Regions from separate parts of the Homo sapiens genome. Here all the other regions are linked to region 3. The links are contacts of gene promoters, found by promoter capture Hi-C in blood cells and fetal thymus (Javierre and others, 2016). All regions are on one chromosome and are shown on one strand. The core of a region is centred on a gene start or on the middle of the fragment in contact, and the rest is flanking DNA. Distances in the headings are between cores, read along the strand shown.

Region 1 (4,249 bases), core at 692-3,191, 540 kb before region 3:
GGGTTTGTTCCAGGCTGTCCATATTGCAAGATGAAATGAGTCCTGGCCTAGTGGGCTCTAGTCCCATCCTTTTTATGTGTCCTTGGCCTGTTGCTTTTCCTCTCTGGGCTTCAGTTTCTTGTGCAGTGAGACAGCGTGTTGGACGAGATGATCTGCAAGATCTCACTGCTCTGCCATTCTGCACTGGCAAGTGTTACGCCCCTGTGGGATGCTTTTGCTGTTGGCTTGCTCTAGGTGTGTGTTACTTTGGTCTTTTTTTTTTTTTTGAGACAGAGTCTTGCTCTGTCACCCAGGCTGGAGTGCAATGGCGCAATCTTGGCTCACGCAACCTCCGCCTCCCGAGTTCAAGCAATTCTCCTGCCTCAGCCTCCCAAGTAGCTGGGACTACAGGCATGTGCCACCACACCTGGCTAATTTTTGTATTTTTAGTAGAGATGGGCTTTCGCCATGTTGGTCAGGCTGGTCTCGAACTCCTGACCTCGTGATCGGTTCACCTTGGCCTCCCAAAGTGCTGGTATTACAGGCGTGAGCCACCATGCCCAGCCTACTTTGGTCTTCTTAACTAGAGTCTACGTTTCCCAAGGGCAGGCATGAATCTGGTATTGTTCTGTGTTGCCCCAGCACCTGCAGCGCTGGGCCCTCCTGCCTGGCTGTGCCCAGCATGCCGCTGTTTGTGCCCCCGAGCCCAGCTCACTCCACCCTCCCTAGCCCCGACCAGCTGTGTCACTGTCATGACCCAGAAAAGGTGGTTACCTGGAGGAGGGACCTGTGGGTTTTCCTTTTGAGGAGTAGGTGGGCTTCAGGGAAGAGCACATCAGCGGGTTTAGGGATTAGATTAGATATTAAGAGAATTTCCTCTCCCTTCCAGGATAGATTGGGAGAGATGCCTCAGTTTCTTGTTTCCCTTTTCTAACTCTGCTTTTCATTACTTCTCTCCTTTGGAAAAGTTTCCCAGACTAAACCTCTATGTTCTATCCCCAAGTCCTGACACCTAACGCTGCTCCTGTTTCTGGTCTTATTTTCTTGGGTTTGTGTGTGTTTGGGTGTGGGTACCACTTCCTCTGTCAGGGAATTTCTGAAACTTTTTTTGAACAGTGATCTCTAATAATAAATTCATTTTATATTACAGTTCTGCATGCGCGCACACACACACACACCCCAAACAAAATTTCATGGTGCAATATTACCCTTACTACCTGTGATGCACACTCATGTGCTGGTAAAGACTCATGCAATTGATTTCACAATCCACTAGTGGGTTGTAGCTTGCAGTTTTGAAAATACAGATCTCCTCTCAGATGGAAGTTCCTTGAAGACGGGCAGAACCTTACTTCCAACACCCAGGGCACAGCACTCAGATGGCCATGGGAGAGATGCTGGCGAGATGGTTGAGTGGGAGGGAGCTGGTCCATGTAATCCCCCACCCTGTCTCCCAGTCCGGGAGTTCCTGCTGCAGCTTCGACTGAACATCCTCAGGGTGTAAGAATCTTGGCAACTTTCCCCTGGAAGTTGCTCTTCACCCTCTGGGGTATTGGGAGGCTGTCCTTAGTAACAGGCCTCATAATATTTGCCAAATCAGGAGCTGTTGCTAGCAGCAGGGCACCCAACTGGCTGAACCTGATTGGGTCAGGGTTGCAGTGGCTGGGTACTAAGCCCTGGATGGGTGTGTCTGGACTCTCAACTCAAGTTCTTGTCTGAACACTTCCCTCTTCCCCTCTCAGGGTCCCCCAGAGTTGGAAGCTTTGTCCAATCCCCTTCCTCTCTCAGGCACCAGCAGTTTGTTCCTGGATGTGTGTTCCTGACTCCCAGCCTGGGACAGTCTCCCTTTCTTCACCCCTGGCCCATGGTGTGCTGGGCCTGCTTGAGCAAACTCAGGAGACCTGATTGTGTGCATCTCTTCCCAGCTCTGCATTCAGTGACATCATGGTGGCAGCTTGAAATCAGCCATGGAATATTTGCACCACGGAAAATGGCAAACACTACAGAACAGACTTATCTTCCCTCCCTGACAGAGAGCCCCTTGTGTAACAATAACACGCCACTGCCCCATCCCTGAGCAGAGTGCTGTGTGTTGCAGCAGAGTGGGAGCGGGTGTCCTCTCCCTTGGGCTCTCCCCATAGCCCCCAGCACCAGGGAAGCTTCTGGTCTCTTTGTTATACAGGAAACATGTACATATACATACTACATGAAGGCTGTACAGTGTTCCTGGGAAGACTATTGGGGCGGTGTATGTTTAGAAGATCTGGGTTTTCATCCTAACTTGGCCTCTTTCCATCTTTGAGATCTTGGACAATTGCTTTATTTCTGTGTCTGTAGAGCAAGGAAAAATAATACCCACATCTCAGATTGTGGTGAAGATAAAAGAAGATGAAGGATCTGCACAGGCCCAGCACAGTGATTGGCACTCAGAGAGTTCTCAATAGTATTTTTATTTATTTATTTATTTGAGATGGAGTCTCACTCTGTTGCCCAGGCTGGAGTGCAGTGGCGTGATCTCTGCTCACTGCAACCTCCACCTCTGGGGTTCGAGTGATTCTCCTGCCTCAGCCTCCTGAATAGCTGGGATTAGAGGTATGCGCCATCACACCCAGCTAATTTTGTGTTTTTAGTAGAGATGGGGTTTCACCATGTTTGCCATGCTGGTCTTGAACTCCTGGTCTCAAGTGATCTGCCCTCTTTGGCCTCCCAAAGTGCTGGGATAACAGACGTGAACCACTGCGCCCGGCCCCCAATAGTATTTTTTAAAGTGTGTTGTAGAACATGATCATGTTAGCCACCATGGGTAAAAGGGCCATTATTATTCCAAAGTTTGGCATCATCCCTCACTCCCACCCTCAACTTGGAACTTGGAGACATATACTTCAGTTCTGGACTCCCAGGCAATGTTTTGCTAATCCTTTCTCTCCAGGGTTTCTGCCTTAGGAATGCCCTCCTTGTAGGTTTCGGGGCCTCTCTACCTGGGCATGGGGGAGCTGCAGAGGCAGCAGCTTGGCTTACCTGTGGGGCACCCTTTCCCTGTTGCAGTGAACCCATTGCCTGGGTGGGTGCCACTTTCCTTCACTGCCAGTTCAGTGAGGGGAGCGGGGGCTACCTGCTGCAGCCCAGCAGGCAGGAGGGTACCGGGGCAGAGAATGCAAGAGTGTGCTCTGCCTGGGTATGGGGTAGAGAAGGGGTGCACTCTGTAATCTGCTCCCTCCTTTCTCTCTTGCCTGACAGGCCAAGATTGGTGCTAGAAGTCAGGGAATAGCCACATTCATCTTTGCCCTTCCTGGCTTTGGAGGAACTTAGAGCCCTTCCTCAAGGGTTTTTAGTAGAGAGTACTCAAGGGTACTGTGTAAGCCACTGAAGAAACACAAGATGGACTCAGATGGCACAAAGAAAAACGACTTACATTTTTTTTTTTTTTTTTGAGATGGAGTTTTGCTCTTGTTGCCCAGGCTGGAGTGCAATGGCGTGATCTTGGCTCACTGCAAACTCTGCCTCCCGGGTTCAAGCGATTCTCCTGCCTCAGCCTCGCTAGTAGGTGGGATTACAGGCATGCTAATTTTGTATTTGTTTTTAGTAGAGATGGGGTTTCTCCATGTTGGTCAGGCTGGTCTCGAACTCCTGACCTCAGGTGATCTGCCCTCCTCGGCCTCCCAAAGTGCTGGGATTACAGGCATGAGCCACCGCGCCAGGCCTTTTTTTTATTTTGAGATGGAGTTTCACTCTGTTGCCCAGGCTGGATTGCAATGGCATGATCTCTGCTCGCCACAACCTCCGCCTCCCAGGTTCAAGCAATTCTCTTGCCTCAGCCTCCCGAGGAGCTGGGATTACAGGCATGCGCCACCATGCCTGGCTAGTTTTGTATTTTTAGTAGAGATGGGGTTTCTCCATGTTGGTCAGACTGGTCTTGAACTCCCGACCTCAGGTGATCCACGCACCTTGGCCTCCCAAAGTGTTGGGATTACAGGCGTGAGCCACCGCGCCCGGCCAAATGTCATACATCTTAATAGTTATGTTTTTTTTGAATATGAATTAGAGCATTAAGAATTAGCACACAGAAGCCAAGATTTCAAGGCTGTCATTGTTTAGGGTCAGGATAAGAAAAAAGTGAATGATTTAGATTTGATTTAAAGAAAAATCTTAAGTACACCTTCATACCTATGGAATGTCGATGTGGCTTGATGGTAAAGGTTGAATGCGAATGACTCATGTTCAGGATAGTCAGGATATCCTGGGTTAGAATTCAGCATGTACTTCTCAGCTG
Region 2 (4,182 bases), core at 1,564-4,063, 580 kb before region 3:
CTCACCCGCCCTGGCGACACTCTCCCTTCCATCCTCCGACTCACCCCTCCCGTGCACCTTGGTTTGGGCTGGGTGAGGGTGGGGAGAGGGTCTGGACAGCCGGGATGAATCCTGGGGCTTCCTTCTTCCCTTTTAAACTGGAGGGTCTTGGAAGAGAGAGACAACTTAAGGGTACAGCCTAGTTCCCACCACCCCTCTCTACAAATCCCGTTCTTCCTCAGGTCATTCTGTCCCCAAATTATAAAAAATAATAGCGGTTATTGTTCTCACCCCAACCCGAGTTCTGACCGTCTTTTAAGCTATCGCCCTGCGGCAGTCCCAGCTGTTCGGGGACTACCCTCCTCCAGGTTCGCCTCTTCGCCAGCACTACCCCAAGGGCTCCCCAGTGGTGCCTTTGTGATTTTTTTTCTTTCTTTTCTTTTTTTTACATAGGGGTTTGGTGTGATTCTAGCATTCTAGGAGAAGGAAGTGGGTGTCTCGGTTCAAACGGGCAAATATTGATTGAGGCCTTTGGCGCCCGGAGGCCTGAGTGCGGGGGTCACAGAATGAGTCATACCCCGGCCCCTGCGCCGGCAGCGTGGGCGGGGCCGAGGGCGGGGTGAGGGGCTGCGGGCAGCAGTCTCGGGACGCTCTCCTCCACCTGGCGGAGCTCGGCGTCGGGGGCGGTGTGGGTGGGGTGGGGTGGGGTGGGGTGGGCTGGGGTGGGGTGGAGGAGGCGCCAGGGCCTGGCCTCGGAAAGCCCATGCAGGATTCAAAGTCTGCGGGCGTGGGACGCCCCGCCCGGGGTTTACGTCCTGTTAAGTTTATGGCTTCAGATAACGCGGTCGCCCACCAACGCCCCTCGCCCATTCAGCCCGTGTCCCTTTCTCGCGTCCTGTCCCTGCTCCGCCCCAGCGGCCTGGCTCCACTTTCACACAGCAGGAGCCAGGCCGGGTTTTGCAGCCCTGGGACTCCGCTGCCTGAGGGGCCCCGGGCCCCCGGCGGCCCCGAGGATTGGGCCCTTCACGCTGACTGGCTCCTGGGAGGCATTGTGGGAACGGGAGGAGGGAAATCCTGGGGCAGAGTAAGCCGGGAGGAACCGGAGCCCCAGGAACCCAGTGGTCGGGGGCCCTTGGCGCTCCAAGCGCCTGGACTTGACTTGTTGACTGCGTTTTGCTAGCCCTGGGGTCCTTATAGAGAGCAGCTAAGCATAGGCTTTGGAATCTGAATTCTTGGTTCGCACTGCTCTGCCGGTTCCTGGTTATGGACTCCCTTGCCAAGTCTTATTTCCTCATCTATAAAATGAATATGAGAGCCCCTAAATCCATATAGGCAAAAGTTTTTGCCTATTCAAACTTACATATGTAAAGAGTTCAGCAGTGCTTGGCCCACATTCCATTAGGATAAGATGTTATAATCACTTTTTTTTAAAAAATAATTTTGGGGCAGAATGACCTGGGGAAGAAAGCGATTTGCAGAGAGTGGTGGAGGGAACTAGGCTGTACCCTTAAAAGATTTCTGTCCCCTCCAGTTTAGAAGGAGTTACAAGTTTTTTTGTTTGTTTGAGACAGAGTCTCACTCTGTCGCCCAGGCTGGAGTGCAGTGGTGTGATCTCAGCTCACTGCAACCTCCGCTTCCTGGGTTCAAGCGATTCTCCTGCCTCAGCCTCCCGAGTAGCTGGGACTACAAGTGCGTGCCACCATGCCCGGTTAATTTTTGTATTATTTGTAGGGACAGGGTTTCAATATGTTGGCCAGGCTGGTCTCGAACTCCTGACTTCAAGAAATCCGCCTGCCTTGGCCACCCAAAGTGCTGGGATTACAAGCGTGAGCCTCCACGCCCGGCCTCTTTTTCAATCTTAACATCTTTAGAAAGGTTGGCTATTTTTGGCCGGGCGCGGTGGCTTACGCCTATAATCCCAGCACTTTGGGAGGCCAAGGCGGGCCAATCACAAGGTCAGGAGTTCGAGACCATCCTGCCTAAGACGGTGAAACCCTGTCTCTACTAAAAATACAAAAAAATTAGTGGGGCGTGGTGGCAGGCAGGTGCCTGTAGCCCCAGCTACTCGGGAGGCTGAGGCAGGGGCAGGAGAATGGCATGAACTTGGGAGGCGGAGCTTGCAGTGAGCTGAGATCTTGCCACTGCACTCCAGCCTGGGCGCCGGAGACTCCCAAAGAAAGCTTGGCTATTTTTATTGATGTGTAATATACAACCTATGTAAATGAAGTTAGGCCTATTGGTTTGCAAATGCAGCTTTAACATAATTACCTTACCTGTCTCCTTCCCCTACCCAATGCTGAGGGACATTGCTCCCCACCTCACCATCATGCCATGCTTTCTCCCCCTGGTCATAGGTGATCTTTCCAGAACAGCTAACCAGGTGCCTGGGGTCTGGAGACCTTACTGCTTGAGGAGTGAATTAAGAGAAAAGACTGCTTGCTTTCCTCCAGACTTTGAGCCCTGGCCTGATGTAGACCTTTTTGCTCTCTCCTCCTTCGTATAGGTACGGTTCCTGGAGCAGCAGAACAAGATGCTGGAGACCAAGTGGAGCCTCCTGCAGCAGCAGAAGACGGCTCGAAGCAACATGGACAACATGTTCGAGAGCTACATCAACAACCTTAGGCGGCAGCTGGAGACTCTGGGCCAGGAGAAGCTGAAGCTGGAGGCGGAGCTTGGCAACATGCAGGGGCTGGTGGAGGACTTCAAGAACAAGTGAGCAACTCCCACCCTCCACCCAACTGAAGTCACCGTGCTCTCCTCCACCCCTTGGGACCTTGGGACTAAGTCCCCATGGCCCTCTGTTGTGGGAAGTGCAGTCCTATCTAATTAGGGTGACCACCTGATGAGGTTTGCTCGGAACAGTCTGTGTTTATGCCCAGGTTCCTAGCACAATTGTTGATAGTACCCACCCCCTTTCAATCTCAACTGTCTGGATTTGAAGAACAAATTATGTGTCAATGTTGACATGGTAAACCTGAGACGGGAGAGATAGGCAGCCTGTGGGCCTCACTTTTGTACTTAACATTCTGGCCCCTCTTTAGTCTTGACCCTTGACCTCTAGCAAACTCTAGAAAGTTCTGTCTGAGGTCTCATGTCAGGCCCTGCTGTTAACACTCTCAAGGTGTCCAATCCGATGTGTATTCATGGATTTGGAGAGAGATTTCCTGCTTCCCACGGGCTAAGGGAGGGGTGAGGGTGGAGAGGGCAGCTGGGGAAGGCAGAAGGACCAGCCTTCTCATATCCTGCATCTCTGTGAACTGAATTTTCCTGATTTTCACAACGCCCCTGTCTCCCAAAAGACCAAGGGCAACCTCCCTTTTGCCTTCATCCTCTAATTGTAAGTCTTTTCCTCACAGGTATGAGGATGAGATCAATAAGCGTACAGAGATGGAGAACGAATTTGTCCTCATCAAGAAGGTGAGGGAGTCTCCCTTCTCCTATCTGGACACTGGAGGCTGGGGCTCAGAGACTCAGACCAAGAAGCTTTCTGGGTTTTGTCCCTAAATATTCCTAAGTAGTGGGACAAACTCATTTATGTAAACATTTGGGTGCACAGAAAGGTAGACAAGGATGGAGTGGTAGGTGCATTTGGACAGAACTCTTGACATCGGTGTTGGGACATGGTTCAGAAAACAGAGCAGTAGAACTGGAGATCTGGCTCTAGAAGGCTCCCTAGAGAAGGAGGTGGAAGAGGGTGTGTTGCAGGAAGCAGAGGTGAAGGTGTGTGGGCTGAGAATGCACATGTGATGGGCAGAGGCTGGGCTGGAAGATCAATCCACAAAGTGGGCAACTAGAAAGTCCTGTGACCAGGCCATTGGGTGGACCTTGGGAGCCCCTTGGTTGGGGTTGGGTGTGGAAACCCAGCTCAGGCTCCCCTCTCCTCATCCCCCAGGATGTGGATGAAGCTTACATGAACAAGGTAGAGCTGGAGTCTCGCCTGGAAGGGCTGACCGACGAGATCAACTTCCTCAGGCAGCTATATGAAGAGGTATGTTCCTGGTCGCAGGAGAGTGAGGGTCCCCCAGCCTTGTCAGCGCCTCCACCCTGAGACTCAACCAGAGGCTCCTCCCAGCCCCCAGCACACTAATAAGACAAAGGCCCACTGCTGACTAATTACAGCCACCAATATTTGCTCGGCTAGTATTTATTGGGTCTATATGTTCTGTCCCTCGCATGAGGGATGAGTCATTACCCCATTTCACA
Region 3 (4,000 bases), core at 954-3,453:
CTCGGTGGAGGGGTCCAACATGATCCAAGCCTGCTGGATTGAGACAGATGAGCCAGGTCAGAAGACAGCAGCGCAGTTTCCAGCATCGTGATGGAGAAATGCTTCACAGAGGGTTCACTGCCCTGCAGTCCTCAGCATTTCACCAAGAAACAGATCCCCCATAATCATTGGATATGTGTGGAGAGCATTCCAGGTGCTCACTGGTTCCAGTGTGGGTGGGTGAAGAGCCTGGTCTTTCTTGGCTGTCTAGCAGATGTTTGACCCAACCAAGACTGAACATGACAGCACCAGCCAGCCCAGCCTCCCTCAAAGATGCTCCCAAAATCCCACTAGCCACTCAGCTGCAGTCAGCCACCCCCAGGCCCCCCAGGTACCCTCAGGCTGTGCCTCCCTGGTGTGTCTTTCACACCAGGATCCCCTATCACACAGCCCACACCCCCAGAGTTCCTGCCCCAGACACAAGACTCTGGAAGCCTGTCCACAGGACCCAAGAAGAGAGGCTAGGAGAGTCCTTTTTTTGGATCCATGGCAGATGTCCAGCTCCCTAAGAGATTTCAACAGCACCATCGCCTGCCCTCCCTCAGGCCCACAGAAGATGGGCCCCTCTTCCATCATCCCCAGATCCCCACTCTGGGATATAACTGGCCCACTCATCCTGAGCGGGAGTGGGAAGGGCAAAAGATGAGAGTCACAGGAGGGTTACTATTAGCCCAGAGTGGGTCAGTGTTGGGTTGTGGCTGGGTCAGGACACAGGTCCATCAGTGGAGTCCTCCTCATCCTCTCCTGACGAAAGCAGTCCAGAGATGTGTGTTTGGAAGGGTTGATGGGCTCAGGTCCTCGGGTTAAGGCAAACCTCCTGGCTCGGTCCGACTGTCCATCCATCAAAGCCATTGCCTGTCCTAACCCAAAGGAACAAGGGCCCAAAGTAAGAGAGCTTGGCTTTAGGAACAGCCACATGAGCTAGCACCCTTCTCTCACCCAGTGTGTTCTCTGAGGTGAGAGAGTGATCTCATTTAAGGACCCTGCTGATGTCCCTCACCTCCCGCACCTTCCCTCCTTCCTGGTGAGTACATACACCCCAAGACCCCATCACTGAGCTTCCCTGCTGGGAACCTAAAGAACACCAATCAGCCTGGACATTGTGAGGGCCTTCCCCCCATCTGTGGCTTCTCATCTTTCCCCCTAGCCAAATGTTGGCTCCCCCACATGCATGCTACCTCCAAACACCCCAGGTCTCTGTAGGATTTCCAGAACCTAGCACAGTGGCTAGTGCATAGTTGGTGGGCACCAAATAAGTATTTCCTGAATAAATGAATAAATGAATAAATGAATAAATGAATACACATAGTCTAGTCTGCAAATCAGAGCCAGACTCTTTTCTGGTCATCTCTCAATCCTGTACTACCCCACCCCAATCCTCCTCAAGCCCAGGTCCCCACTCTCCTCCATGAGTCCCTGGAGCTCTGAGGTATTCCACACTCCCCGCTCCTGATCCCATCAGCAATGACACCTGGAACTCTGAAGCATAGCCCTGGCACTGTCCTGAACTCTCTGAATCAGTTTCTTCCATGTCCCAGATGGTGTCCCTGCACTAGGAATACCCAAAGTGCAAAGAACATGCCCTCCTCCCACCCCAAATCTCTACCCCCACTCCCATCCTTGACCAGGCTCTGAGCAGGAATAGGATAGGAGCGGCCAATCTTGACAATGAGGAAAGGAACCCGCCTTTGAGAAAAAGACAGGAAAGCCTACAGCAAGAGGTTGTCTCAGAGGCAGCCCCCTCCTTGGGACAGGCCAGCCACTCCACCCCAGGGCTTGGCCATGGGTCCAGGGCCCATAGCCTAGCTCTGCCCCTTTCAGAACAGGGTTCAGAGAGCAGGCTTTACCCCAGGTCACTGCACCCATTCCCCTCGCTTGGACCGCAGAATGCAACTAATGCTTTCAGGAACCCCTCTCCCCGCTCCACAGCAGTGCCAGTGGGAGGGGCAGGAGCAAGGAGGAAGCTTATAAAGGGCTTTGAAGATGAAACAGGGCCCGTGGCCAGGGATTGTTGATGCAGCCACACTGAAGAGGCAAGCAGGGTTCTAGCTTAAGAGGCCAGGGTGATGCCAAGCCAATAAAATTCAGCTATTGTCTCTTTGCTCCCTCTTTTAACACCAGCTGCCCCTGGCACATAAAAGGGCCTGCCATCAGCCAGGGAGCACAGGCCCTTGGTTCCATCCTCTGCCATCTACTCCACTGTTCAGACACCTCCTAACCTCCGTCATGACCTGTGGCTTCAACTCCATAGGCTGTGGGTTCCGCCCTGGAAACTTCAGCTGTGTCTCTGCCTGCGGGCCCCGGCCAAGCCGCTGCTGCATCACCGCCGCCCCCTACCGCGGCATCTCCTGCTACCGCGGCCTCACCGGGGGCTTTGGCAGCCACAGCGTGTGCGGGGGCTTCCGCGCCGGCTCCTGCGGACGCAGCTTCGGCTACCGCTCCGGGGGCGTGTGCGGACCCAGCCCCCCATGCATCACCACCGTGTCGGTCAACGAGAGCCTCCTCACGCCCCTCAACCTGGAGATAGACCCCAACGCGCAGTGCGTGAAGCAGGAGGAGAAGGAGCAGATCAAGTCCCTCAACAGCAGATTCGCGGCCTTCATCGACAAGGTGGGTGTCGTCCTGGATCACACCCTTCCTGAACCCCTACTCATGTTCAGAACTCAGGCTGGGCACTGACAGGGAAGTCAAAGGCAAGAACTTGCCCACAGAAGTTCCCAGGCCAAAGGGAAAGGTAGTCATACTTCTAGGACACAGACAGAAAGACAAAAATGGGACCGGGAGCTACCAGACTGATGGGGGAGATTAACTGAAAACACAAAAGCAGAACGAGGGGCAGAGCCTTCCACACTGAGTGATAATATCACCTAGTGAGCAAAGGACCACTGTGTGGGCGCTCAGGGCATTTGAAGCCAAATAACTGCTTAAATGCCAAGGAGATGCTGTCTCCATCAAGGCAGGGCTAATAAGTGTGGTGCTGGAAAACTGTCTGGAAGTGGGTCTCGTGGATGGCACAGAACTCTTTCTATACCACACAGTGATTTGGCCACTGAGCAGGGTCTAGAGTATTTTGTCCAAGCCACTGTTCCTGGGGCTCAGGATCCAGGGGTGAGCAAGAGTCATGGTCCCCATCCTCACAGGCTTTATGGGGAGGCAGGCAGTGCACAGTCTGGGTTTGGTTGAAACCATCTGTGTAGTCAGTGTCCAACTAGAGTTTGCAGCCACCTTCTCCACTGAATCCAGGCAACCACCATGTGGCAGTGATGTGAGAGACTGGGAGAAAAGGCTCTGACTAGGAACATGTTCTGGGGTTGGAAAGAGCCCTCCAGAGCCAAAACCTCAAGAGAGGAGTCACACTAGAGAGATGCCCACCAGAAAGGATCGGGAAAAAAAAATGTGGAATTTCTAATAGCATGAGAGACCAAGGATAGCATAAGATAGGACCTACCAAGGGTGTGGCCAAGTTATTAGACAAAAGAAGCTGAGTGGAGTAGTGGGCCAACCTCATCGCTGGGAGAGGGATGTTCCTATAATTGTCAAAGGGAGAGAAGACACCCCCTGCAGCGCAGAAGATCGGAGTTTGAGCTCTTCTCTGCCACTGTGAGCTCTCAGGCAGTCAGGGAACCTCCTTGGCCTCATCAGTAAAATAAGGGGGTTGGAGCACAGGACATTCCTACTCTCATATTGCAGGTGACTATTATTCTAATTGCATTGTTGTTGTAGGGTTTGAATAATTGGCACATGCTTTATTTTTCAACTTTTACAGTTTGCCTTTCTAAAAAGGTCCACCTGGCTTGGTGTGATTGAACAGCAGTAGCTGTTCAGTGTGGGGTGCCTTTCTGTTAAAGGGTTCTTTTAATCCTCATAGTAAGGTGAGCTTTAACCTCGCCACTCTACAGAGGAGGTGAGTGCTTTATCCAAGGGCACAATGTTAACAAGTGGCAGCAGAATCTGGACTCTT
Region 4 (4,041 bases), core at 27-2,526, 620 kb before region 3:
AAAGACCTGGATTCGGCCAGGTGGCTCATGCCTGTAATCCCAGCACTTTGAGAGGTTGAGGTGGGAGAATCGCTTATGGCCAGGAATTTGAGACCAGCCTGGGCAGTATAACAAGACCCTGTCTCTATGAAATAATAAAATATTTCAATATTTCACAATATTCCCCACTGCTGGCTTAGTGATCTTGAGCAGCCTTTACTAGCTTGGTCTCTCCTCAGCTGTAGAATGAGAAAAATAGTAATATCCACTTAGAGAGTTTTCATGAGGACCAAATGAGATGACGTGCCTGGAAGAGCTTTGGCAGCTGAGAAGCCAGCTGACCTCCCCTCCTGTCTGCTTTGCCCCATTTGCTCCTTTTCTTCCCAGCCCCCTTGTTCTTTTGCACTTACTACTCTCCAGCCTTCTGCTCCCTGCTCACCACTATTTTTTTCCATCTAACATGGGCTCAGGGCAGGGTGGCTAAGACTGAGTCTTTGAAAAGGGGGGTGAAATGGAAGAACAGAGTGGCCAAGAACCTATCTCCAGATCATCCAGTCAGCCGGCTCTGTCTCTGTCAGCCTCTTTCCTGGCCTAGGCTGGGCAGGTTCTGCCAGCAGTGTTTAGGGAACTATCCTGTGAGCAGCTAGGAGAGCAGGGCTGGAGCTTGGGAGAGGCATGGGGCAGGAGGTATGGATGCCAGGGTCACAGCTAACCTGCGGGGCCTTTACACAAATTGCAGAGAGGGAGCCTCTTCCTTGTTTCCTGGCAGGGTGTGCCTGTACACTGAACACCCTGCACGGCCACGTGCAACGGGCCCACCTGGAGCATCCCCCTCAAGGATTTGGGTGAAACCCAGTTGTGGGTGAGGTGGCCTAAGGGAAAGGATCAGGGAAAAGAAGGAGCAGAGTCAGCACAGAGGGACTTGAGGCAAGAAGAAGAGGAAGAGACAGAGGGAGAAGAGGAGAAAGAGGAGAAGGCCTAGATCTCTAAGTTCCCAGGAAGAGACCAGGAGAGAGGACGTCATGAAAGCCAAGAAGAATGAGGTTCAAGGAAGGGGGGCCCACAGGGCCAGGTGCACAAAAGGATCAGGGAGGCTGAGGACAAAAAGAGCACTTTCAGTAGAGCGATGGAGCCTGGAGCCGGGGTGTGGACTGAGAGGGAGGAGAGAGAGGACCAAGTGGAGGCAAAATGTAGACTTTTCTTTCAAGCAGTTTATCAGCGACGGACAGGAGAAATCGGGAGGCCAAGCGGTTGTTAGGTCGCAGAACTGATGGACGGTTGCCTTAGGATGAGACAGTTTAGTAAAGCTGATCAGTAATTAAACAAGCAATAGCACTAAAGTGTGGTTGGTGCTATGCCTGGGTGAGTCCAGGGAACAATGGAAGCCCAAATCAGTAAACACTAATCCTGCTTGAGATTCTGGGGGAGTGGAGTGACATTTAAGCTGCAACCTGAAAAGTGATATCCTAGTAGGTGGCAGAGCTGGGATGTGTTGTGTGTAACCTCTCTAGGCTCCTTCCTCCCCAATCAGAAGCGTGTGGCAGAGGCAGGAGGACACCGTGGCACATTAGGTGAACTCTGTGTTCTAACCATGAGGCATAAGAAGGTGAGTCAGTGGTCTTGAGATCCCAACAGCAGTTACACAACATGGCTTCATGATGAGACCAGCCACACAAGAAACACTGCGTATCCTGGGGGTGGGAGAGAAAAAATGGTGGGCTTCACTGAGGGATGAGAAGGCAGGAGAGGTGGAAGCTCAGGGACAAAGAAGCCTTAAAACATGGCTGAAAGGGCTGGGCCTTGGGTGGGGAAGCAAAGGCAAACAGAAGAGTTTAGTGGAAAAGGAGGAAGCCCGGGACTGAGGTGGCACGGCAGTTGGAAGCTGCAGAGAAAGCACAGGAGCGTGAGATGGGGAAGGTGAGAGAGAGTATCAGAATCTGGGGTCAGAGCAGCTGGTGATGTCACTTCAGGGTGCTGAAGGCACTGAAAATCATGGGGTTAAGAATCTTTGGGAAAAGAGAGGATGGAGAAACAAGATTTTGGAGTTGGACAGATCTCAGTTTGAATCCCAGCTCTGCTTGTTTCCTTGCTAGGTGACCTTGGTCAAGTTGGGTGCCTAAGTTGGGTGCCCAAGTCGGCGAGCTTCTCTGATCTCCAGCTTCCTTATCGGTTTGTTGCAGAGATTAAGCATGTATGATAGGGCCTGGGGCGGAGCAGGTGCTTGTTAAGTGTGCCTCCTCCTCCTGGAAGAATCATCAACATGGAGCTTTAAGGCTGTCGGTTTAGTTCACTTCCACCAATAGTGACCTGGGAATACAAAGATAAATACAACTAGACAATAATAATCAAGGAGATTATTATTAGAGGGAACAGATCATTGGACAAACAAAATACAGTGTGATTGGTGCTATGACAAGCTCCAGAGGACTGTCAGAGAAAGGAAGAATTCATTAATTCATTAACGCTTTGTAAGGCACCTAATGCCAGCATGGTCTAGGATCTGAGAATACAGCACAGAAAAGCCACAAGGTTGCTGCTTTCATGGAGCTTGCGTTCTACGTGCTGAAGGACTGGGGTCATGGAGAACTTCACGGAGGTCAAATGAATGCTCAGACAGGGCTTCAAAAAGTGAGTAAAAAGCCAGGCACGGTGGCTCACACCTGTAATCCCAGTATTTTGGGAGGCTGAGGCGGGCGGATCACCTGAGGTTGGGAGTTCGAGACCAGCCTGACCAACATGGAGAAACCCTGTCTCTACTAAAAATACAAAATTAGCTGGGCGTGGTGGCACATGCCTGTAATTCCAGCTACTCGGGAGGCTGAGGTAGGAGAATTGCTTGAATCCAGGAGGTGGAGGTTGCGGTGAGCTGAGATCACGCCATTGCACTCCAGCCTGGGTAACAAGAGTGAAACACTGTCTCAAAAAAAAAAAAAAAAAAAAAAAAAAAGAGCAAAAACTTGCTAGAGGAGCCCGGGGGCTAAGGGTAAGATTTCGCAGATAGAACACTTGGCACCGTGGCTTTTTATAGCATCCACCAGAATCCCCTCCTCTGAGACTCAGAACCATATCTCCTGCTGGTGGATATTATCCCTAATTGGAGGTTTCAAGGAAACCTTAAGCTTTTCACATATAAGGCTGAGCCTATGATCTTCCTGCATCTGTGGGTTTTCTTGTTTTAAAACATTTAGATTTATAGACGGGCGTGGTGGCACATGCCTGTAATCCCAGCTACTCGGGAGGCTGAGGCAGGAGATTCGCTTGAACCCAGGAGGCGGAGGTTGTGGTGAGCCAAGATCGCGCCATTGCACTCCAGCCTGGGCAACAAGAGTGAAACTCCATCTCAAAAAAAAAAAAAAAATTAATGTATTGATGCACAATTTGCCTACAGTAGCATTCACCCTTTTTAGGTATACAGTTTGATGGGTTTTGACAAATGGATGCAGCTGTGGAAATGCCACCATAATCAAAATACATAATTTTTATCCCTTCAAAAAGCTCCAGGCTGGGTGTGGTGGCTCACACCTGTAATCCCAGCACTTTGGGAGGGTGAGGCGGGTGGATCACGAGTTCAGAAGTTCAAGACCAACCTGGCCAAGATGGTGAAACCCCATCTCTACTAAAAATACAAAAAAATTAGCGGGGCATGGGGATGGGCGCCTGTAGTCCCAGCTACTCAGGAGGCTGAGGCAAGAGAATTGCTTGAACCTGGGAGGAGGAGGTTGCAGTGAGCTGAGATGGCGCAACTGCACTCCAGCCTGGGCCACAGAGGGAGACTTCGTCTCAAAAAAAAAAAAAAAAAATCCACTGTGTTCTTTTATAGTCAAGTTCATTGCTCACCCCCACACCTCCTCCCCGACACCCCCAGCTATGGTAACCACTGATCTGTTCTCTGTCCTCATAGCTTTTCCCTTTCCATAATGTTGTATAAAATAAACTATAAAGTGTGTAGCTTTTTTGTGTAGCTTTTTACTTTTCTTTTTTTTTTTTTTTTTTGAGACTGAGTCTTGCTCTGTCGCCCAGGCTGGAGTGCAGTGGCATGATCTTGGTTCACTGCAACCTCCA
Region 5 (4,096 bases), core at 966-3,465, 650 kb before region 3:
CTTTGATTTGACCACGGCTGTGACCATCCGGTCAACAGAAGTATGCCATAGTCCTGAGGTGCTCCTTGTGGCTGGGTCTGGTGCTAGACAGGGCTAAAGGCAGCACCAAAGTGGGCAGTAGGCCTTTGAGACCCCGACTGGACAGAGCCACACTCTTCAGGCAGGATGCTGTCTCCTTATCTAGGCTTGGGGTCTTGGGGCAGCCGGAGGGTTGGCATCCTTGATTATAGCCACAGGGATGAGACCTTTTTGTTTTGTGCTTTGGCTCAGCTCAGCCCCACTGCATGCCTGGCTGCTCCCACCAGCTCAAGATTATCTCTCTGGTGACGTGCTGCCTGGGGCTTGGCATGTACCCACCCCTGCGATCTTGCCCCTGCTGCAGCCAAGAGCAAAGTTTCAGTCTCTGGGACCCCAGCCAGACAACTCAAGGAGAGCCAATGAACTTGTATTTATGCAGTACCTACTAGCTGCCAGGCATGCAGCCAAGCCTTGGGGACTTTGTTCTCATTATTTTCTCACCTTTCCCACTGCACAAGTCTTAGCATCTCTCAGGTTTCACTTCTGCCACAAATCATGGCCATCATCCTCCCCGTGAACACCTGCAGCATTTACTGCCATGACATTCCTTGGCTTTGAATTAACCTCGTGACCTTTCTTGTATCTTTATGTTCTTAGGGCCGAACCTGAGGGTGGGGACCTGGGTCTAAGCTGTCCCACTGGTGGGCACCTTCCCTTCCTTTCCTGAACATTTTTGGAATGTAGGAGTGACCCCAGAGGAGGATTACAAAGCCCTTCTTCAAAGGAGAGGTTGAAAGTGGTGCCCGGGTTCTATAAACATTTGCACTGAGCATTCCTAAATGACAGGGAGATTTATAGTTTGAGTGCCTTCCCATTACGAAGACTGTTTAAGTGACTTGGGAAAGTTTCTTTAAAAAGAAAAAAAAATGGAGCAGATTAAGATGAGATTTTATTTTTCTTTTTTTCCTTAAAAAGAAAAAAAGGCTAGGCGAGGTGGCTCATGTCTGTAATCCAAAGGCTAGGTGAGGTGGCTCATGTCTGTAATCCCAGAACTTTGGGAGGCCGAGGTAGGTGGATCATTTGAGGTCAGGCGTTTGAGACCAGCTTGGCCAACGTGGTGAAATCCTTGTCTCTACTAAAAATACGAAAATTAGCTGGGCGTGGTGGTGCACACCTGTAATCCCAGCTACTGGAGAGGCTGAGGCGGGAGAATCGCTTGAATCTGGGAGGTGGAGGTTGCAGTGAGCTGAGAAGCCGAGACCACGCCACTACACTCCAGCCTGGGTGACAGAGTAAGACTCCGTCTCAAAAAAAAAAAAAAAAACAAATTCTTCCTGGGCTTTCTTAAAGCTGGGGTGTGTGTGAAGCGAAGCTGAGGAAGTTCAATTGTTCTCCCACTAAGTTCTCTTTCCTGGAACAAAGAGGACCTGCAAAGAGAGTGAGAGGACTGCTGGCATCTTGAAATATTCTTCTACTCTCCTTTGTCCTCTTTTCCTTGGGTGAGGCATGCAGAGACTCCTCTTGGTTTGTTATTTGCTCATTTATTTGTTCATTCATTTGCTTATTCATTCAAAAGCTAGTAAGAGAAGATTGTTAAATTTGAAAATTTTGCTTCCCAGAATTAAACCATTTTAAATCAACCATGACAGCAGTATTTATACCTTGGATATTGGCAAATGCTATAGGTTATTAAATAAAATAAAATAACATTTTATTTACAATTTAATAAAAATTACAATTTCAAATTTTTGTCTTTAAAAAAGAAAATAACAACCTGCTGTTTATGTGTTGGAATTGTGTTATGTATCAGGGCATAAGAGTGAACAAGATAGTCCAGTCTCTGCTCAAAGGGAGCTTACAGTCTGGTGCTGCACTGTCCTGTCCAATCTGGTAGCCATTAGCTACTAGCTACTGCTGTGGTTATTAATTTATTTTTTAAAGTTTTTAATTTTGGCTGAGTCTGGTGGCTCATGCCTGTAATCCCAGCGCTTTGGGAGGCCGAGGCAGGTGGATCACCTGAGGTTAGGAGTTCGAGACCAGTCTGGCCAACATGGCGAAACCCCGTCTCTACTCCAAATCCAAAAAAAAAAAAAAAAAAAAAAAATTAGCCAGGTGTGGTGGTGGGCGCCTGTAATCCCAACTACTCGGAAGACTGAGGCAGGAGAATCACTTGAACCTGGGAGGCGGAGGTTGCAGTGAGCCGAGATTGAGCCAGTGCACTCCAGCCTGGGCAACAAGAGTGAAACTCTGTCTCAAAAAAAAAAAAGTTTTTAATTTTTGTGGGTACCCAGTATGTGTATCTATTTTAGGGTACACGAGATATTTTGATACAGGCATACAATGCATAATAATCTCATCAGGGCATCCATCACTTCAAGCATTTATCCTTTATGTTACAAACAATCCAATTATACTCTTTTAGTTATTTTTAAATGTACAATAATTTATTTTTTTTGAGACGGAGTCTTGCTCCATTGCCCAGGCTGGAGTGCAATGGCATGATCTTGGCTCACTGCAACCTCTGCCTCTCGGGTTCAAGCAATTCCCCTGCCTCAGCCTCCCGAGTAGCTGGGATTACAGGCATGCACCACCATGCCTGGCTAATTTTTGTATTTTTAGTAGAGACGGGGTTTTACCATGTTGGTCAGGCACGTCTTGAACTCCTGTCCTTGTGATCTGCCCGCCTCAGCCTTCCAAAGTGCTGGGATTACAGGCATGAGCCACTGCACCCAGCCTTAGGCTGGTGCTTTTTAAACTTTTTTTGCTTCTGGGGAGTGGGTGATAGGGAAAGTTCTGCCAGCCTGGGAGGGGCCCACTAGAGCCTGCTGCTCCAGTGTGGATTGTGGGGAGAGGAAAAGGAACTGTGTGCTTTGGGCCCAGATCACTGGAGTGCCCTGAGTCTCTGAGAAGTTTACCCTACATCCCTCCTGTGGCAGCACCATCCACTTCACCAGGATCTGACCAGGGCCTTCAGGGGGACACAGCCTCCCCGGATCTGAGCATCACTATCATTCTAATTCCTTGGGCTGTTTCTGTGTAGATAATTATTTTCCAGCTCATTCAGGCAGGTGAGGTTGAGGCCAGCAGTGCAGCTAAATCCTTACACCGTGACTGGGGCTGCTTTTATACAGGTTAGGGGAAGAATAATCACTTATGGCTGAAATCTAATGGAAGAGGGAGTTCTGTGTAACTCTAGTGGGCAGAGCTGAGTTTAGAAGGTTAGTAGGAGGCAGATTTCAGCCCAGTAGAAGGAACAATAATGTTCCAGTAATTATACAATTATTATCCAACAGGGGCTATACTGTCATAAATTCTTCAAACGGAGGCCAGATGTTAGGAAGGCCACAAAGAGGATTCCTACTGGGAGAGGCCAAACTTGAACCATCTGTTTATTTATTTTATTTTATTTATTTATTTTTTTGAGAATGGAGTTTCACTCTTGTCACCCAGGCTGGAGTGCAATGGCACAAACTTGGCTCACTGCAACCTCCGCCTCCCGGGTTCAGGTGATTCTTTTGCCTCAGCCTCCCAAGTAGCTAGGATTACAGGCATGCACCACCACGCCTGGCTAATTTTGTATTTTTAGTAGAGACGGGGTTTCTCTATGTTGGTCAGGCTGGTCTCGAACTCTTGACCTCAGGTGATCCACCCACCTCGGCCTCCCAAAGTGCTGGGATCAGAGGTGTGAGCCACCACACCGAGCTGGTAAGTATATTTTTATTTTTATTACTATTTTTTTTGAGACAGAGTCTTGCTCTGTTGCCCAAGGCTGGAGTGCAATGGCAAGATTTCAGCTCACTGCAAACTCCGCCTCCCAGGTTCAAGCAATTCTTCTGCCTCAACCTCCCAAGTAGCTGGGAATACAGGCGCATGCCACCACGCCTGGCTATTTTTTTTTTTTTTTTGTATTTTTAGTAGAGACAGGGTTTCACCATATTGGCCAGGCTGGTCTTGAACTCGTGACCTCGTGATCCGCCCGCCTCAGCCTCCCAAAGTGTTGGGATTACAGGCGTGAGCCACCGCGCTGGGAGGTGTATTTTTAAACTTAGAAAAAACGGCCCAACTGTTTTCCAAAGTA
Region 6 (4,384 bases), core at 341-2,840, 600 kb before region 3:
TTTGGAGGTAGTGGTAGGAATTTGCAGAAGTGCAATGATGTGAGGGAGGGTCAGTTCACAGGACGAGTGGGAGGGCAGAGAGCTGGGAGCCTGGCTACGGAACCCTCACTCAGCTGTCCTGGGCTTCCTGAGCTTCCCCAGATCAGCGGGGAAGCTCCTGGAGGTCTTCTGGAAGGCACCTTCCTTTATCAGAGGTGTTGGCCGATCAGTTCAAGCTCTCATGCTGGCTGCAGAATCTGCCTTCCTGCCTCCTGCATCTCCCAGACTGTCTGCCTAGATCCAGGGGACTGGGAAGCTAAACTTTGGGTTTTGGAGCCAGAAGAGCTGGGTGGAATTCTGATCCTAGCACTTAGATGCTACATGACTTAGGAAGTAGATGGAAAGTTTCTGAACTTTCATCTCCTCATCTGTAAAATGAGGTTATTTGTACTTTCCTTATAGGTTTGTTTATTTATTTATTTTGAGACAGAGTCTTGCTCTGTCGCCAAGGCTGGAGTGCAGTGACACAAATTCAGCTCACTGCAAAGTCTGCCTCCTGGGTTCAAGCGATTCTCCTGCCTCAGCCTCCCGAGTAGCTGGAATTACAGGCATGTGCCACCACGCCTGGCTAATTTTTGTATTTTCAGTAGAGACGGGGTTTCGCCATGTTGGCCAGGCTGGCCTTGAACTTCTGAGCTCAAGTAATCCACCCACCTCAGCCTCCTAAAGTGTTAGGATTACAGGCGTGAGCCACCGTGCCTGGCCTCCTCATAGATTTAATTGTGAGGAATAAATGCAGTTATAAAAACCTATGGTACAGGGAGTGCCTGCCATATGGTACTGTCTTCAGGGAGAGAGGGAGGTATAAGGTGGGGAGGAGAGACATGGCTTTGGAGGCAGACGGGGTCCAGTTCTGGCTCTCCCATTTGCTACATTTTTTTTTTTTTTTTTTTTTTTTTTTTTTTTTTTTTAGAGACAGGGTCTCACTCTGTCACCCAGTGCCATTGTTACTCACAGGTGCAATTATGGTACACTACAGCCTCAAACTCTTGGGCTCCAGTTATCCTCTTGCTTAGCCTCCCAAGTAGCTGGAAATACAGGTGTGCACCACTCTGCCTGGATAATTAGAACAATTTTTTTGTGGGGGAGAGGGGTATAGACAGGGTCTTGCTGTGTTGTCCAGGCTGGTCTTGAATTCCTAGCCTCAAGCCATCCTCCCACTTTGGCCTTCCAAAGTGCTGGGATTACAGGTGTGAGCCACTGTGCCAAGCAGTGCACATTGCTTTTAATCCTGAGGCTCAGTGTTCTCCACTCTAGAATGCAGATAATGCTTATTTTATAGTTTCTGTAAGAATTAAAAGCTTTACCACCTTAAGGAAACTGCTAGGCCATGGGGGAATAGCTGAACCCATGCCCAGCTCTGGGAGATCCGGCCACAGCTGGGGATGCACAATCAGAGGCTCCAGGCTGGAGGGCTGGAGGGAGAAGCCTGGGAGGAATAGTCCATCTGGGAGGGCTTCCTGAAGGAAGTCCTTGGGGGTAGAGCCAGGCTAGAGGGACACAAAGAGAGAGGAAGGAGGGGCCCTGGGCCTGTGCACTGCATAAGTGAAGAGGGAGTTTGTGCAGGAGCTGGCAGTCAAGTAGGATAGGGTCAGGCCATGGGGGCCTGGGGGTGGAGGTTTAGTGTGGTGACATGTGGGAGCCATCGAAGCCATAGAACTGTGGGTCCAGGAGGAGGACTAGGGAGTTTGACTTTTGCAGCTGGACAATTGTGAGCAAGAAGTACTGGTCCTCTCCCTCAGAGAGGCTTTCCCTCCTTTGCCTTCCATGTTCTGGAGGCTGCTGTTGCTACTTAAGCTTCTCTTAATGTTCCCTGGATGGTCACCCAGGAAACTTGGGGAGGCAAGGAAGGAGAGAGAAGGTAGAATGTGGCCTTGGGGAATAGATGGCCTCTGCCTGGAGTTCTGTAGGGAATGCATAAACACACAATTAGTTGTGTTGCCATGGGAACTTGACTAACAGGTCCCTGAGGCTAAGCTGGCCTGGGCTGGCCTGGGCTTAGCCCATTCCCACCATCCAGGTCAACAGATTTTCCTAAAGGCCTATGAATGGGTCATTGTATCTGAGTTGGGGTTATCTTAGTCCTTAGAGACCAGGGAATGGGGTGGGGGCAGGTTGGTTACAGAGTGGTGGGTAGCAGGTCTTTTCTTTAGCTGAGCTGCGTGCTCTCTAGAGTCTCTCTGTCTCATTTTCTGTCTTACAGACATATATGCACACATGCAGGGTCTTGCTATGTCGCTGGTTGTCCAGGCTGGTCTTGAACTCCTGGCCTCAAGTGATCTTCCCTTGGCCTTCCAAAGTACTGGGATTACAGGTGTGAGCCACTGTGCCTGGCTGGGCACAGGCTTACCTGGCAGGCTGGTTCAGCCATTTGTGAATTCGTTCATCATATACTGGTGGAGTGCCTGTTAGATGTCTTTCTAATGCTGTGGATGTGACGGTCAACAACATAGTCAAGGTCTCTGCCCTCATGGGGCTGTCCATTTTTAATTTTTTTTCAGATGGAGTTTCGCTCTTGTTGCCCAGGCTGGAGTGCAATGGCACAATCTCAGCTCACCCCAACCTCTGCCCCCTGGGTTCAATCAATTCGCCTGCCTCAGCCTCTTAAGTAGCTGGGATTACAGGCATGTGCCACCATGCCTGGCTAATTTTGTATTTTTAGTAGAGATGGGGTTTCTCCATGTTGGTCAGGCTGGTCTCAAACTCTTGACCTCAGGTGATCTGCCTGCCTTGGCCTCCCAAAGTGCTGGGATTACAGGCGTGAGCCACCGTGCCTGGGCTGGGGCTGTCCATTTTGATGGGGAGAGGTCCCCCAAGTCTGCCAGAATCCCTACTGTAGGAGAGGTAGTACAGATGCTCAATAAATAAATGTAATATAGCTCTTTTGGATTGCTAAATAAAATAATAAACATGTTTTGAATCCTCCCTTTTGAGTTATTGACATTATTACATCTCTTAATGGACATAATTGGATCCTGACTATAAAACAGCATAATTGAAAAGAGAATGTTCAAGCTCTAAAATTACTCCAGACTTGGGTTCAATTCCTGTCTCTGTCACACTAACCAAAGGACCTTGGGCTTTAGTTTCCTTGTCTGTAAAATGAGAACAATGTTACCTTCCTCATGGATTAGTTTAGGATTATAAATAATAGGTGCGGTGGCTCACGCCTGTAATCCCAGCACCTTGGGAGGCCAAGGCAGGCAGATCCCCTGAGGTCAGGAGTTCAAGACTAGCCTGGCCTACATGGTGAAACCCTGTCTCACTAAAAATACTAAAATTATCCGGGCATGGTGGTGCAGGTCTTTAGTCCCAGCTACTTGGGAGGCTGAGGCAGGAGAATAGCTTGAGAACCCAGGAGGTGGAGGTTGCAGTGAGTCAAGATCGTGCCACTGCACTCCAGCCTGGGCAACAGAGCAAGACTCCATCTCAAAATAAAATAGACTAAAATAAAATAAAATAATATATAATATATGTAAGAGATCTGACACTTTGACACTTGGTAGGAACCCTGAAAATGAAAGCCATGGCTGGGCATGGTGGCTCACACCTGTAATCCCAGCACTTTGGGAGGCTGAGGCGAGCAGATCACTTGGGGCCAGCAGTTTGGGACCAGCCTGGTCAACATGGTGAAACCCTGTCTCTACTAAAAATACAAAAACTTAGCAGAGAGTGGTGGTACATGCCTGTAGTCCCAGCTACTTGGGAGGCTGAGACAGGAGAATTGCTTGAACCCGGGAAGCGAAGGTTGCAGTGAGCTGAGGTAGTGCCACTACATGCACTCCAGACTGGGTGACAGAGTGAGACTCTGTCTCAAAAACAAAAAAACAAAAAAGAAACCCATCATGATCACCATGGTTCCCAATCCTAATCACTACCACTGCCACCATCATTGGCAGGGAAAGGAGCCCTGGGTTGAGAGTTGGGGAAAGCAAGTGGGCGTCAGTAGGCAGGGCTCTGTTTGCATGGCTAGCTCCCTAGGAATTGGATTTGCAAGCTTCTGTTTTGCATAATGGCGGATTTTTACATGCTATTTCTTTATTACTATCCTATAAGCTCCTCCTTATAGACCCAATTGCCACCTCCTAGTTACCCTCCACCCTGCTGAGCTAGCACTTTCTTCCACTTGACCACCTACCCTGGGAAGAGGCAGCAGACACTGTTCTGTTCTGCAAGGAGGTTATTTCATGCAGGGAAACACAAGGCTTAAACTCTCACAAGGCAAATGTATCAAAGTGATGTGAACACAAGTTCCATGGGGGAGGGTGGTCTGAAGGTGGTGAGGGAATGGGGGAAATTGTGTGGAGAAAGGCTTTGGGAAAGGCTGGGGGACAAGCAGGGAGGG
Region 7 (4,179 bases), core at 69-2,568, 670 kb before region 3:
TCTCCGCCCATCCACCTAGCACATAGTTCCTGGATAAATCTCCCTGAAAGAGCGCTCTTACTGTGTCACCACATCTCTTTCCAAGGCCCTACTCTCCAGCATTGAAAGCTCTGCATGAACTGCCCTCAGCTTGCTTTTCCTACTATATCTGTCACCTCAACTTCTGCCTGGCCCGGAGCGGACGCTGGGCTTTTCCATGTTACTCATCATTCTCTTCATCTGGAATGCCTGCTCCCTCTTAGTCTTGCCAAATCCTTTGCAGGAGAAGCCCCTCCTACTTCAAGACATCTTCCCAAGACATCCTGTTGGCCTGGTCTCCCATTTAGTTGTGTATTTGGCTTATTTTATCCAGGTGGTATTTTATACACAGTTTTTTTCCTCTTCTTCAGGGCCTTGTAACATGTAAACCTCATTTCTGTTTTGGTTTTTTTTTGTTGTTTGTTTTTGTGTGTGTGTGTGTGTGTGTTTTTTTTTTGAGACGGAGTCTCGCTCTGTTGCCCAGGCTGAGGTGAAGTGGTGCGACCTTGGCTCACTGCAACCTCCACCTCCTGGGTTCAAGCAATTCTCCTGCCTCAGCCTCCTGAGTAGCTGAGACTACAGGTGTGTACCACCATGCCTGGCTAATTTTTGTATTTCTAGTAGCAATGGGGTTTCGCCATGTTGGTCAGGCTGGTCACAAACTCCTGACCTCAGGTGATCCACTTACCTCGTCCTCCTAAAGTGCTGGGATTACAGGCATGAGCCACCACGTCCAGCAGTTTTTGTTGTTTTTTAGAGTCAGAGTCTTGCTCTGTTGCCCACACTAGGGTGCAGTGGTGCAATCATGGCTTACTGCAACCTTGAACTCCTGGGCTCAAGCAATCCTCCTGCCTCAGCCTCCTGAGTAGCTGGACTACAGGCATGCACCACCACACCCAGTTAACTTCTAAAATTTTTTGTATAGATGGGTGTCTTGCTATGTTGCCCAGGCTGATCTCAAACTCCTGGCCTCAAGTGATCCTTCTGCCTTGGTCTCTCAGAGTGCTGGGATTACAGGTGTGAGCCACTGCACCCAGCCTAAACCTGTTTTTTTAATGTTCTTCTACTTTTTTTTTTTTTTTTGAGACAGAGTCTTGCTCTGTCACTGGGCTGGAGTGCAGTGGTGTGATCTCAGCTCACTGCAACCTCTGCCTCCCGGGTTCAAGCAATTCTCCTGCCTCAGCCTCCTGAGTAGCTGGAACTACAGGCGTGTGCCACCACGCCCAGCTAATTTTTGTATTCTTAGTGGAGATGGGGTTTCACCATGTTGGCCAGGATGGTCTCGATCTCTTGACTTCGTGATCCGCCTGCCTCGGCCTCCCAGAGTGCTGGGATTACAGGCATGAGCCACCACGCCCGGTCGTTTTGTTTATTTTTCTAATGAAGATTTCTGCTTGGGGAGTTCAGGTGGGGCTTTTTCTTGAGTAAATCCAACCACCTCTACCAAAGACTCTGTAGTTCCCACTTCCTGGGTTGGAGATTGTTAGTCAAAGGAGGAACTGGTGAGGACTTTGGCTAGAAATTTCCCACGTGGTATTTCAAAACCAAACCCAATTCTGGACCCAGACAGGAGAGCAGTTTGGGGTTGCTTATTAGGACAGGCTTGTTTGACACTAGCATACTAAAGTTCTCCTTCTTTTCCTTCTTACTTTCCAGTTCAGACTTTTGAATGATGGGGTATGTTTGAGAAGCAACTAAAAACCCAACCTCTGCCCCTTGGGAGTTTATTACAAATTTATAGTTAGTTGTATTTTCTTGGCAGGTATTGATAAGAAAGTAATTCACCTGATTAATGTTTTTATTGTATATCTGTGGATAAATGAGTAATGAATATATAAATAGTGGAGTATTATCTAATAGACAAATCAAAGGTAAATGTAATAGAGGAAGGAGCTATGGATAAACTCATCACAGAGCTGGGTCAAGTTACACTTTCTCCCACCTTGATCTTGTGTCTGTCTTAGTCAGTTCTGCTGTAACAAATTACTATAGACAGGGTGGCTTAAACAACAAACATTTCTTTTTTGTTTTTGAGACGGAGTCTCACTCTGTCGCCCAGGCTGGAGTGCAGTGGCTGGTGCAATCTCGACTCACTGCAACCTCCACTTCCCAGGTTCAAGCAATTCTCCTGCCTCAGCCCTCCGGAGTAGCTGGGACTACAGGGACCCACCACCACACCTGGCTCATTTTTATATTTTTAGACGGGGTTTCACCAGGTTTGCCAGGCTACTCTCGAACTCCTGACCTCAGGTGATCTCAGGTGATCCACTCACCTCGGCCTCCAAAAGTGCTGGGATTACAGGCGTGAGCCACCGCGCCCGGCCAACAACAAACATCTCTTTCTTTCTTTTTTTTTTTCTGAGACACAGTTTCGCTCTTGTCACCCAGGCTGGAGTGCAATGGCATGATCTCAGCTCACTGCAACCTCCGCTTCCTGGGTTCAAGTAATTCTCCTGCCTCAGTCTCCCAAGTAGCTGGGATTACAGGCATGTACCACCATGCTTAGCTAATTTTTGTATTTTTGTATTTTTTTTTGATGGAGTCTCGCTCTGTTGCCCAGGCCGGAGTGCAGTGGCACGATCTTGGCTCACTGCAACCTCCGCCTCCTGGGTTCAAGCGATTCTCCTGCCTCAGCCTCCCGGGTAGCTGGGACTACAGGCACCCGCCACCACACCTGGCTAATTTTTGTAGTTTTAGTAGAGACGGGGTTTCACCATGTTGGCCAGGCTGGTCTCGAACTCCTGACCTCATGATCTGCCCACCATGGCCTCCCAAAGTGCTGGGATTACAGGCGTGAGCCACTGCGCCCAACCTACAAACATTTCTTTCTTTCTTTTTTTCTTTCCCTTTTTCTTTCCTTCCTTCCTCCCTTTCTTTCTTCTCTTTCTTTTTTTTTTTTTTTTTTTTTTTCCTGAGATGGAGTCTCACTCTGTCACCCAGACTGGAGTGTAGGGGCACGATCTCGGCTCACTACAACCTCCGCCTCCCGGGTTCAAGCAACTCTCCTGCTTCAGCCTCCCAAGTAGCTGGGATTACAGGCATCTGCCACCATGCCCAGCTAATTTTTTTTTTTTTTTTTAATTTGAGACAGAGTCTTGCTCTGTCGCCCAGGCTAGAGTGCAGTGGTGCAATCTTGGCTCACTGCACCCTCTGCCTGCTGGGTTCAAGCGATTCTCCTGCCTCAGCCTCCTGAGTAAGTGGGGTTACAGCTGTGCATCTCCACGCCCAGCTAATTTTTGTATTTTTAGTAGAGATGGGGTTTCACCATGTTGGCCAGGCTGGTCTTGAACTCCTGACCTCAGGTGATCCACCCGCCTCAGCCTCCCAAAATGCTGGGATTATAGGCATGAGCCACTGCACCTGGCCTACCATCAGTTTTTTTTTTTTTTAAACTTACAGAGCTATAAGAGTCTAGTCAAAAGCAGTCAAAAATTATATTGAGCACATTGATTATATTCTTGGTATATCCAAAAATAAGAAGTTGAAGGGGCTGGGTGCAGTGGCTCATGCCTGTAATCCTAGTACTTTGGGAGGCCAAGGTGAGCAGATCACCTGAGGTCAGGAGTTCGAGACCAGCCTGGCCAACATGGTGAAACCCTGTCTCTACTAAAAATACAAAAATTAGCCAGGCATGGTGATGGGCGCCTGTAATCCCAGCTACTTGGGAGGCTGAGGCAGGAGAATCTCTTGAACCTGGGAGGTGGAGGTTGCAGTGAGCCTAGACCACGCCATTGCACTGCAGCCTGGGTAACAAGAGTAAAACTCCGTCTGAAAAAGAAAAAAGAAAAAAAAAAAAGAAGTTGAAGGACAATTGAGTCTTTGAAACAAACTATTTTTATAAAATGAGAAAGAAACAACAAAAAAACACAAAGACACAGACCACTACAAAATCAAATAACACTGAAAGTTCTCTATACAAAGCCCAGCATTCCACTAAAAAGGTACCCAGTAATCTTTAGCTCATTTTAAGATCTTTTAAAATTTTTCCAGCAAAGACTTGGTCTTAGCATTCTTTTGTATTTTGCCATCTAGCACAATATTTAGGTATTAGGTATGTTAGGTATTCAATAAGTACAGGCTGCTTGATTGGAGAATTATTGAATGATGGATTAGAAAGTGTGTGATGGATTGAAAAGCATGACCAAAATATTTTGCAGTGCC

Evidence for each region. Contacts are between HindIII fragments. The CHiCAGO score rates a contact against its expected background, and 5 or more counts as called.
Region 1: a fragment that was not itself captured here is called in contact with the fragment with the promoter of KRT83 in region 3 in 3 of 17 cell types (endothelial precursors, fetal thymus and total CD8 T cells); the score reaches 6.2 in endothelial precursors.
Region 2: a fragment that was not itself captured here is called in contact with the fragment with the promoter of KRT83 in region 3 in 2 of 17 cell types (naive CD8 T cells and naive CD4 T cells); the score reaches 6.1 in naive CD8 T cells.
Region 4: a contact is called between a fragment that was not itself captured here and the fragment with the promoter of KRT83 in region 3, in 1 of 17 cell types (M0 macrophages). The highest score is 5.7, in M0 macrophages.
Region 5: a fragment that was not itself captured here is called in contact with the fragment with the promoter of KRT83 in region 3 in 7 of 17 cell types (M2 macrophages, M1 macrophages, naive CD8 T cells and 4 more); the score reaches 8.7 in M2 macrophages.
Region 6: a fragment that was not itself captured here is called in contact with the fragment with the promoter of KRT83 in region 3 in 4 of 17 cell types (M1 macrophages, erythroblasts, M2 macrophages and 1 more); the score reaches 7.1 in M1 macrophages.
Region 7: a fragment that was not itself captured here is called in contact with the fragment with the promoter of KRT83 in region 3 in 1 of 17 cell types (M0 macrophages); the score reaches 5.5 in M0 macrophages.

What each region holds. Positions count from the first base shown.
Region 1 is chr12:52,857,621-52,861,869 of GRCh38, reverse strand. No RefSeq gene overlaps it. Among named protein-coding and RNA genes, the nearest start is that of KRT78, 11 kb to the right of the region's middle. The HindIII fragment of the contact is 398 bases long and covers 1,743-2,140 here.
Region 2 is chr12:52,900,373-52,904,554 of GRCh38, reverse strand. KRT8 (keratin 8) reads left to right here. Exons shown (of 8, transcript NM_002273.4): 2 at 2,483-2,691; 3 at 3,336-3,396; 4 at 3,872-3,967. Among named protein-coding and RNA genes, the nearest start is that of KRT8, 2.6 kb to the left of the region's middle. RefSeq lists a silencer at 539-708 and an enhancer at 2,278-3,122. The HindIII fragment of the contact is 1,303 bases long and covers 2,162-3,464 here.
Region 3 is chr12:52,319,601-52,323,600 of GRCh38, reverse strand. KRT83 (keratin 83) reads left to right here and starts at 2,203. Exons shown (of 9, transcript NM_002282.3): 1 at 2,203-2,649. The coding sequence starts at 2,266. The HindIII fragment of the contact is 9,694 bases long and covers 2,006-4,000 here.
Region 4 is chr12:52,940,364-52,944,404 of GRCh38, reverse strand. It overlaps a transcript of KRT8 not described here. Among named protein-coding and RNA genes, the nearest start is that of KRT18, 6.7 kb to the left of the region's middle. RefSeq lists an enhancer at 56-650. The HindIII fragment of the contact is 3,648 bases long and covers 1-3,100 here.
Region 5 is chr12:52,966,681-52,970,776 of GRCh38, reverse strand. No RefSeq gene overlaps it. Among named protein-coding and RNA genes, the nearest start is that of KRT18, 20 kb to the right of the region's middle. The HindIII fragment of the contact is 7,174 bases long and covers 1-4,096 here.
Region 6 is chr12:52,918,751-52,923,134 of GRCh38, reverse strand. It overlaps a transcript of KRT8 not described here. Among named protein-coding and RNA genes, the nearest start is that of KRT8, 16 kb to the right of the region's middle. RefSeq lists an enhancer at 4,095-4,384. The HindIII fragment of the contact is 496 bases long and covers 1,343-1,838 here.
Region 7 is chr12:52,986,436-52,990,614 of GRCh38, reverse strand. No RefSeq gene overlaps it. Among named protein-coding and RNA genes, the nearest start is that of EIF4B, 18 kb to the left of the region's middle. The HindIII fragment of the contact is 7,088 bases long and covers 1-4,179 here.